2 separate regions of the Homo sapiens genome follow, and region 1 is linked to region 2. The links are contacts of gene promoters, found by promoter capture Hi-C in human tissues and cell types (Jung and others, 2019). All regions are on one chromosome and are shown on one strand. Each heading gives the region's core, a stretch centred on a gene start or on the middle of the fragment in contact. The rest is flanking DNA. Distances are from core to core; before and after follow the strand shown. Region 1 overlaps WDFY4 (WDFY family member 4). Region 2 holds the start of LRRC18 (leucine rich repeat containing 18).

Evidence for each region. The method cuts DNA at HindIII sites, captures the fragments that hold promoters and counts their contacts. A contact is called where the count stands out against the background at its distance.
Region 1: a fragment that was not itself captured here is called in contact with the fragment with the promoter of LRRC18 in region 2 in 3 of the 25 tissues and cell types used here (aorta, liver and stomach).

Annotation. Positions count from the first base shown.
Region 1 is chr10:48,894,752-48,899,175 of GRCh38, forward strand. It overlaps WDFY4 (WDFY family member 4), which reads left to right. Exons shown (of 62, transcript NM_001394531.1): 45 at 2,703-2,823. Among named protein-coding and RNA genes, the nearest start is that of LRRC18, 43 kb to the right of the region's middle. RefSeq lists an enhancer at 2,567-3,327. The HindIII fragment of the contact is 6,329 bases long and covers 1-4,424 here.
Region 2 is chr10:48,937,451-48,941,949 of GRCh38, forward strand. LRRC18 (leucine rich repeat containing 18) reads right to left here and starts at 2,390. Exons shown (of 4, transcript NM_001378102.1): 1 at 2,296-2,390. It overlaps WDFY4 (WDFY family member 4), which reads left to right. Exons shown (of 62, transcript NM_001394531.1): 48 at 4,356-4,398. The HindIII fragment of the contact is 9,630 bases long and covers 1-4,499 here.

The DNA.
Region 1 (4,424 bases), core at 1,544-4,043, 42 kb before region 2:
AAGCATGGGATGATGGGAGCACAGAGGAGTGGCCATGTCATCCCCACCAGTACCTTGACCTGGGATGCTGCTAGACCTAAGCCAAAGGTAGGAAGGAGAATTGTCTCTGTGGCCTTACTGGGAGTCAGAGATGTGTAGGAGCAGCTCAGCTGAGATCCAGATAGAGACATTAATAATGGACAAAGGACCTCAGCCAGCAGCCGGTTTGTATTAAAGCATCCTGGCAGAAGCATTCAGAACCAAAGCGGTGTTTTGTGTTTGATCCATCCTACCACAATGCGGCTTAGAGGAGAGGGCCTGGGAGGGTTGTTCTGAGAAGGGTCTGCAGAGAGCCTGAGTCTGCAACCTCAAAGCCCAGCTGTTCAGGGGCCTAAGCAAGGGGCTCAGGCTGTGTCTCACTTGGGCAGGCTTCCCTGCTGCCCAGCACAAGTCGAAGCTCTTAGTACTGCACATGCTGGACTGCCACTGACCATAGACTAGAGAATTCCCTCTGGGTCTGTGACTGCTTGGCCTCTCTCAACTTCCCCAAGAAGTGGGGCATGGAGGCTCCATGGGCTACATTGTAGGCTGGGCCTTGGGGACCACACTGGGAGCTGGAATGGGAGAAGCTGAAACAATTTCCTCACCCACTCCCTGTCACCTTAGGCTGGGGCTGGCAGGACCACCTTGGGGCAGGGGCCTTTGTAGCCCTTGGCTCTCTGGGCCTGTGGTTGGCACACAGGCTTCTTGAGGGCTGGCGTGCTTGGGAGGCCTTCGTTTCTTAGTCCTGGCATCTTATCAGAATGGCTGTGGTTGTATACACAATTTAAGATGACTACATGCCCCAGATGTTCAGAAATGTAACTGTCTATAACAGAAATCAACTTTATTTCTGAAGCTCCCATGTGTCCAGATGATGAAAAGCTTCATATGATTAGCTCAAGGCATTTCAGTTATTTCCAGTGTACAAATTGTTCTCTTTGGGAATAAATATTTGGACAAATTTATTATCCTCCCTTTCCCCTCCTCTCTTCTGCTTCTCTGGGAGGAGGGGTCACTCTGAGATCTTTCTGGAAAAGCTTCCTGCACACCCCTCATAACTCTCCAAGGGGCCTCATCTCGGGACTGCCTGATGCCTGCTGGAGGCATGCCTCTGTTCCTCCAGGTGCCCAGGAGGTGGGTCCCTCATCACACGTGGGTCCCTTCTCTGCCTTTTCAGTGAGTTCCTTATCACCTCTCCAAGATTGCTTCTCACTGCTCCAGGCCTGGCCTGGGAATTTTAAGATGCACTCCCTACATTTTCTCTGTCCAGCCTGGGTCTTGCAAACTGAATGAGCTCTGGCTTTCAGGAAGTTATTTCTGCTGTGTGACTGAGCAATCGCTTCAGAATTCAGTACACCTCTTTGTCCTGGGCTGGGTATACCCAGCAGCTCAGGCCTGTGCCTTTGTATGGTCTGCAGGGGAGACAGACCAGTCAGACATGCCGCCAAGGGGCAAAGGATATTTGCTGTGGTTCCTGTTAGCATGGATGCTGGGAGCACAGATGAGTGGCTATGTCATCCCCACCAGTACCTTGACCTGGGATGTGGTTTGACCTAAGCCAAGGGTAGGAAGGAGAATTACCACTATGGCCCCACTGGGAGTCAGAGATGTTTAGGGGCAGCTCAGCTGAGAGCCAGATAGCTCTCAGGGCTGCCGAAGATGTCAGGGAGACAGGCCAAGGGTCCTGAAGAGCTCCCTGGTTTGACACGAGACATCACTCTACAGTCTCAGTGAGAGCCTCACTCACCTCTGAAGAGACCTCATCCTGAAGGTTGCCAGGGCCCAGGCCAGGCTGGGCAGCCTCTCAGGATGCAGGCGCTGTGCAGATGAGCTCTAGGTGCTGTCCTCATGCCTTGCCAGCGGCCTCTTTGCCTTCCTCTGCTCCACTCCCTCCTCTTCCCTGTGGTGCCTGACCCCTCCTAACTCTGGTTTGCATTCAGTCTCACAGTCACCTGACTTCCCTCAAACCTCCCTGCCAAGTGCTCTGTACTCCCCAATCCTGCCATGAAGGGTCTGAGTCCTGTCAGTCCCTGTGGCAGCCACAGGCCACACCTGACTCAGTTACCTTGTCCAGCCCCTCAGCCCTGCCAGGGAAAGAGGTCATTCAATACAAAACGAGAACACCTGGGCAGAGGGACTAAGGTGTGTGGCACGGCAGGTATCCTGGGGCTGAGACTGTCACGCCTGGGCAGAGGTAGCTGGCACAGCGCCAGGCTGGGCATGGGGGAGCCAGGGAAGAGAGGCCACAGGAACCCACGAGGGCTCCTGGGCATGGTTTACAGTCACGCACAGGACCCATGAAGCCCTCCCTGCTGGCCCCCACTCTCACCCAGGGGCCTTCTCACCCCGACCCTCATACCCTTTGTCAGCATCATCCTGGAAACTGCGCCGTCATATTGCTGTCCCCTGGCCTGGTGAGGCTGGCACCCCACCCTGTTCCTCCAGGGCAGGGCAGCTTTCACGTGTCAGCGGCCAGTGCTAGAGCTGACATGGGCAAGCACTCAGCAAGGATTTCTCAGATGAGTAGGGCTAGCACACTGGTTGGCAGTGACCACCGCACTTCTCTGATGTGTCATTGGAAATGTGGGTGGAGCTGGTGGAGGGCAGGAAGAAGAAGAAGCCTGCACGTGTCCTCACTCTGATGTCTGAACATGTGCCCTGCATGCCTGTTTCCTTTTCAGCATCAGCGATCCGTTCATTTTCAACCTGTGCAGCAAAGACAGGTCCACTGACCATTACTCGTGCCAGTGCCACAGCTACGCTGACATGCGGGAGCTACGGCAGGCTCGCTTCCTCCTGCAGGTAAGCACACTGGGTGCTGGCACGCCTGGGGCCTGCGAGAGGCAGGGCCATGGGACAGGTGGTCCAGGAGCCATCCAGAGACACACCTCTGTGACTCTTCTTTGTGCCTATGCACAGCCCAGTGCCCTTAAGGAGACACCCGCAAGTTCCCTGGGCTTGTGGTGGCCCTGGTCCCAGGTGGGAGTTCTGACTTCTGCTCCACTCTGCAGTCCTTGCCGTTGGCTGTTGGGCCTTTTGCTGTGTCTTTTAGGATTTAGCTGCTTCGCTGTTTTGCTCTTGACACAGCCCAGAGCTGCCTTGGAGATTTAGGAATACAGGGCAGGACAGATACATTACCTCCCAGTAGAGCTGATAACTGGGAGTAGAGTGCCTTCTGCCCTGTCCTGCCCACAGGGGTAAGACCTCCCTTGCTGACATACTCTCCCCCTTTCTCCCCAAGGTGCTCGCCTATTGCCAAGCTCCTGCTTGGCCCTGTTTCTGGGGCCAAGTGGTTTAGGGATCTCCCAGCTGCCCCCTCCAACCAGGATCTTTCAGTGCCTCACCCATGCCTTCAAGGGCTTAGCCAGGCATGCAACAGTGATGGTGGCTCCTTTCAGAGGAAAAGCTCAGCCATAAGCTGGTCATAACCTCCCACTTCTCATCCCACTTCACAGATAGATCACACTTTCTAGAAACATCACCTGAGCAGCAAAGGGAGTAGGGTAAACTTCAGGGGCCCCCAGTGACATCAAACACATGTTGCCTTCATTACCCCAAGCTCAGCAATAGCAAAGCTGCATCCCCAGTCCCTGGGCCTCCAGGGCAGCTGGCAGAAAAGGGGATCCTAGGGACCACGTAACAGGAGGGTCAGGATCTCTTCCCACCCTCTCTACAGGATCACTTAGTTCCAAAGGCCAGCAAGAGAGCAGTGCTTGGCCTAGATGAACTAGACATTTTTCATTTGTAAATCTATTTTCTGTACGTAGGTCATTGATTCATCCAGTGACCCCTCCTGCAAGAGGGCTCACTATCATTCTCTGAAACTGAAGCTCAGGGTGGCCTTTAAGGTGGGGGAATTCCTGAAAGGCCCCAGCTGCCCTCCTGTCAAGGGTTTGCCAGCAGCTCCACTCTAGCCCTCTAATGAGCACTCTTCCTCCCTCTGCTGCTTTTGCCTGCAACACAGTTAGTTCTCATTTTGCCTGAGCTTCCTGAGGGCCTTTGCAGGGTGAAGGAGCAGGAAGAGCAGAGTGGAAGTAGCAGCCCTGCCCTGATGGTTCTGGGCAGTGCTGCTGGTTCTGGGCCAATCTCCACCTCAGCTCTGCCACATTAGCTCCTGTGGGCACCTCTCTGGTTTCCTTGCCCTTCAGTGAGCGGGAGGCCGTGTCCTGCCTTTCCACTATTATACATACAGCACTGAGTACAATTTTAGGCACAAAATAGGTACTCAAAATTATTTTTTATGATTATATGTCTACCTCACATGTTATATAGAGTAGCAGATAGGTATCAGTCAGTGGGGTTTTTTCCCCAAGTACATGGTGATTGTTTCCAGAGGGTTGGTTCACCTGAAGTGGTGGAAGCCAAAGGGAGAGCTTTTTGAGCAAGGCCACCATTTGTCCATC
Region 2 (4,499 bases), core at 1,140-3,639:
TGCTGGCTGCTCTGTGCCAGGCCTAGGGTAGACACCAACAATGAATTTCACCTCCCTGGCCTGTACACCACCTCCTTGCCCCACACCTCCATATCTTCATCTGTTAATGGAAATTATGGTAACCTCATTGGGCCTTTGTGGAAATTAGACAATAGGCAAAAAGTCTTCACACTTTCTAACAGGTTAAACAATTAAGTGTTATTATTAGGTCTAGAACTGTATGCAGATTTTCCACGTTAGGGAAATGAAAAGCGATAGGTAGTTATAACAGAGAGGTTTAATGAGCTGTTCATCCAGCAGGGTGTCTCTGGTTTGAAAGGGTACGTCTGTCTCTACATGGATTTCTAATGCCCTGCCTGGGTTTAAAAAGTAGAGTCCAGGTTGACCAAGATGTGCTTCTTAGGAGAAATAAATGGGGAGAGAGGGAGTGTGTTTGGCTTCTCACTGAACAACTCTGTCCCTGCCACACTCTACCCCTGCCACACTCTGCCCCCAGCATCTCCCCAGCTCACACATTCCCTACCCAGGAAGCCTCGCCTGGCAATGGCCAAGCTGGACTATTTTTCTCCTGTCCTGAGAAATAGCCCACACGCATCAGCAGGCCTGTGTTTCCAGCTTGCCCACATAAGCAAATTTTCTTCTCATTGTGGCTTGCGTATGCCTAGTGCTTCTTAACTCAAGAAACAAATCCCTCAGTCACTCACTAACCCATTTTACCATGTCCTCAAAACTGTTTTTGCAAATAGGCAACACAACATGGGAGAATTTGGAGAGGCAGCAGGATTTTGAGATGTGTCTGCATTAGCTCGGGGTCCCAGGTTAACCTGCAGGCCCTCTGTAGTTGTCTGCCATATTAGGGCTACACCTAGCCTCCTAGTGCCAGGTGAAGAAGAGGATAGGCAGAGACCCCAGACTCCTTCCAGGGCTGAGAGGGTGCAGCCTTTAGCCAGATGAGTCCCTCGGCTGAGAGCCTTTGGTCTGGGGTCTAACCCACCATATCTGGAGGCCCAGCCACAGGCTGCTCTGCCAGCCCCCGATGGAGGAAGAGCTCTTGGAACATGCCTCTGGCTCCTTCCTCTCTGCCACCTGCTCTGGGGGCCTGGTTTCAGGGTAGGGTGGAGGTGCTGTTTGGGTGGAGCTGGCCCAAGGGAGAAGAGTCAAAGCAGGACTATGGGGCAACTCAAGGGCACTGATGCTGTGCAGTGTGGGGTAGGGAAGGCCCTAAGGCCACATGGCAGTAGCGCTCAAGCTTCTGAAGCTCGTCTGGGGGGGTAAAGGACAGAGATTTGGTTAAAAATGAAGCAGGATGGGTGTAAATGACCCCTGAAAATAAGGAAGAACTTGAACTACCCACGACGTCCTGATTCAGAGATAATCTTTCCATCTTTGAAGTCATCCAGTAGAGGTGGACACCTGTCCTGGGTGGGAAGGGAGTGAAAGGGTTGATGTGATGTCCCCTGTATGTCCGCCTGTGCTAGGCCCAATAAGGCCAGGCCGGGTAACCGCCACAATCCTCACTGGCTTCATTCGAGTTCTTCTGTTCTTCTCTGCTCCACCCCAAGTTGCCCACAGGCCCCAGTCTTGTCTTGTAGCTCAATGCAGGCACCCAGCAAACCCTGAGGAGCTTCTCAGAATTGTGTCCACTGGGCTGACTGAGCAGGTGCCCAGGTTCCCAGGTTGCACAATTCTAAGGTCACTCAGAGGGGGACTGGCAGAGCCAAGAAGGTCTTGACCAGAAGCAGGCCCCACTCTGCCACTGCACTCTCCTTCCTCCAAGAGTAGAAAAGAATCTCCCCTGCTCCTGAACAATGTCAACATCGCCAGGACCACGCCTGTTGAGTAGCTCCGTGCCCACACCAATGCTAGCCTTTTCCAGACCCATGGTCTCACTGGCTCTCCCACACCCCTGTGTGACAGGTGTGGCCAGTGTGTTGCAAGGATGATATGGCAAATCAGAGCGGCTTGCTGTCTTGCTCGGGGCCCCCCATTTAAGTGGTGGAGATAGAATTTAGATCCAGGTGTCCCTGACTTCACAGCCAGAGCTCTTTCTCAGGCTGCCTCCCACGGATCTCAGGAGCACATTAGAAAGCCAAGAGCCATTTGCAACATCTTATTTAATCTAAAACTTACATGATAATGATGGATGATGGATGATGCGGTTTATTAACTTTTAAAGAAATACTTTCAACTAATCACCAGTTACCAACAAAATTCACATAGATCATTTTAAGAGTTCTGTAATCACCTTCAGATTAATATGATTTTAAAACAATATTTTTAAAAAATAGATCTCACCTTTGGTTAGGTGTCCTGGAACTGCTGGTAATGGCGTCTTTCTCTGATGGTACCAGAAATAATGGAACTTCCTTGAAGCTGATAGCCAATGAAATGAGGAGGGGGATGGTGAAATGCCTTTTTCTTCTGTACACCATTCCACCTGATAGTAACATCACAAGTGACCACAGGCAAAATTCTAGAACCTTGTCTGAAAGGGAGGAGAGCAGAGACTGAATCTCATTTCCTGGATCCTAACAGGCACATTTAGCTCCACTTCTTTCATTCCTCTGTCCTCACTCCCCTGTCAACTTCTAAAACAGAGTAGCAAGAGCAGCAGGCTGTGGCAGGCCAACTCCACATGCTCATGGCTCTGGAGGGCTCAGCACAGGTCCTTTTCAAGGTGATGACCCTCACTGTCTCCAGCCTGGGCTCTGCCCTTGCCTATAGCCTTAAGAGCAGCCTACCCTCCAGAACTGGGTGGGTGGCAGAGTCGCAGACACAGCAGGAGAACCATATCTTCACTTGACCCTTTACAAGCTAAAGCAGTATATCGGAGCATGTTTTGCTTCTGCTTATTGTTGGGTGTTGCTTGCTTGGATACATGGCCCAAATAGATGACTTCTCTATTAGGGATGAAGAGGTAAATCCCAGCCTGAGGGTTGCTTTCTGCTTATGGAAAATCTGCCAAGTAAAGAATTGAATGCAGAGGGATGGAGAGCCCAGGACAGAAGATGTGACGGTGGGGCTATGATGGGAATGTGAAGCAGCACTGTCCCCCTGGGACACACGGGCAGCCAGGCCTTGTCCAGACTGAGCCCGGCAGGGTCCTGACACAGACCATGCAGGTGGAGCAGAGAGTATGTGGGGACTGGGTCTGTAGGTACCTGAATAGAACTGTGGCAGAGGGGATGGATGGAGAGAACGGATATGATTTGGCTTGGTGTGGTGGAGCATCTTGAGAAGACCTGGTCTTGGGGGTAGAGGAGAGTCTTATGGAGTTGGGGAAGAAACGGCTGGAAAAGGAGCAAAGGGGCACCTTGGAGGCTGAGGAGCTGGGCTCTGTAATCTCTGCTGAAGAGAAGAGAGGTTTCAGGTGAAGGGAGAGGGGCTCCTCCCCACACTCTCCCCAGTATTGCATTTTGTTACCCTTTTTTCCTACCAGGGCAGTCCACAATGGGACTTCTTTGGTTTGATATTTAAGTCTTAATTTTAGCCATGTACATTAGTATGGCCTTTTAAAGGAACCATTTGGCCATAGGTAGCAAAATGGTAAATACTCATACTTTTTAACCCAGTAGCACCACAGCTACTCACAGAAGTACCCAGAGACATGTGCCAAAAGGTGCTCCTGGAAACGTCAGTTGTGAGAACAAAGCCTGTCATGGGGGCGGTGAATCAGTTAGGATCCAGCTGTGCAACCCTGCCCCGTGGTTGCAGAGATGAATGCGAAAGGGCAGTGTGAGCCGGTCTCCAGGGCTGCTGCAGCACAAGGGAGGCTGGGTGGAGAACCGGGTGTACGATGTGATCCCATGTATGATTGAAGTTTTTTAGAAACAAACAACAAAAAAAACTATGTAGGCATATAGGCAGGCATATGGGTAAAACATTTTCTGGAACATACACTGGAAACTGGTGACTGTGGACCCTTCTTGGGAGACCCTTAGGCCATATCTCATGGCCTTCCACGTTGTTTGCATTTTATCCACGAGCAAAACAAGGGGTCGGGGCAGGGATAAAGAAGGCCGAGATGTGGCAGGGGAATTCTGTGTGGGTTGTGAAGGAGGCCCCCAAGCCTGAGGCTGCATGTCCCCTGGAATTCTTGAGGCAGCAGCTTGTTCTGGCATCACAGCGGAGGGACACTGACTGCAAGAACCTAACCTTCAGCAGGCCAGGGTGGGGCAAGAAGAGCTGGATGACAGTCTCCCTGTGCTGTCCGCTGAGAGTTGCTCTGGGATTTGGGAAGTCTGCAGCTTTCCTGAACACCCTGGTCCCGTGAAGCCCAGGCAAGCCCCACCTCTCCCCTGTTTGTATTCTTGCCTTGGTATATTTAGTCACCACCTTGGTTTTCTGTCCCACAGGAGATACCCCGGCTCTGACAGGATCATGCTGCAGAAGTGGCAGGTACAGTAGCTCCTCCAGAGGGAAGCCCTCTGGGAATGCAAACCAGAGAATGGCTCAGGCCCCAGCGATGGAGAGGAAGTGTGTGGATCAACCAAGAAGGG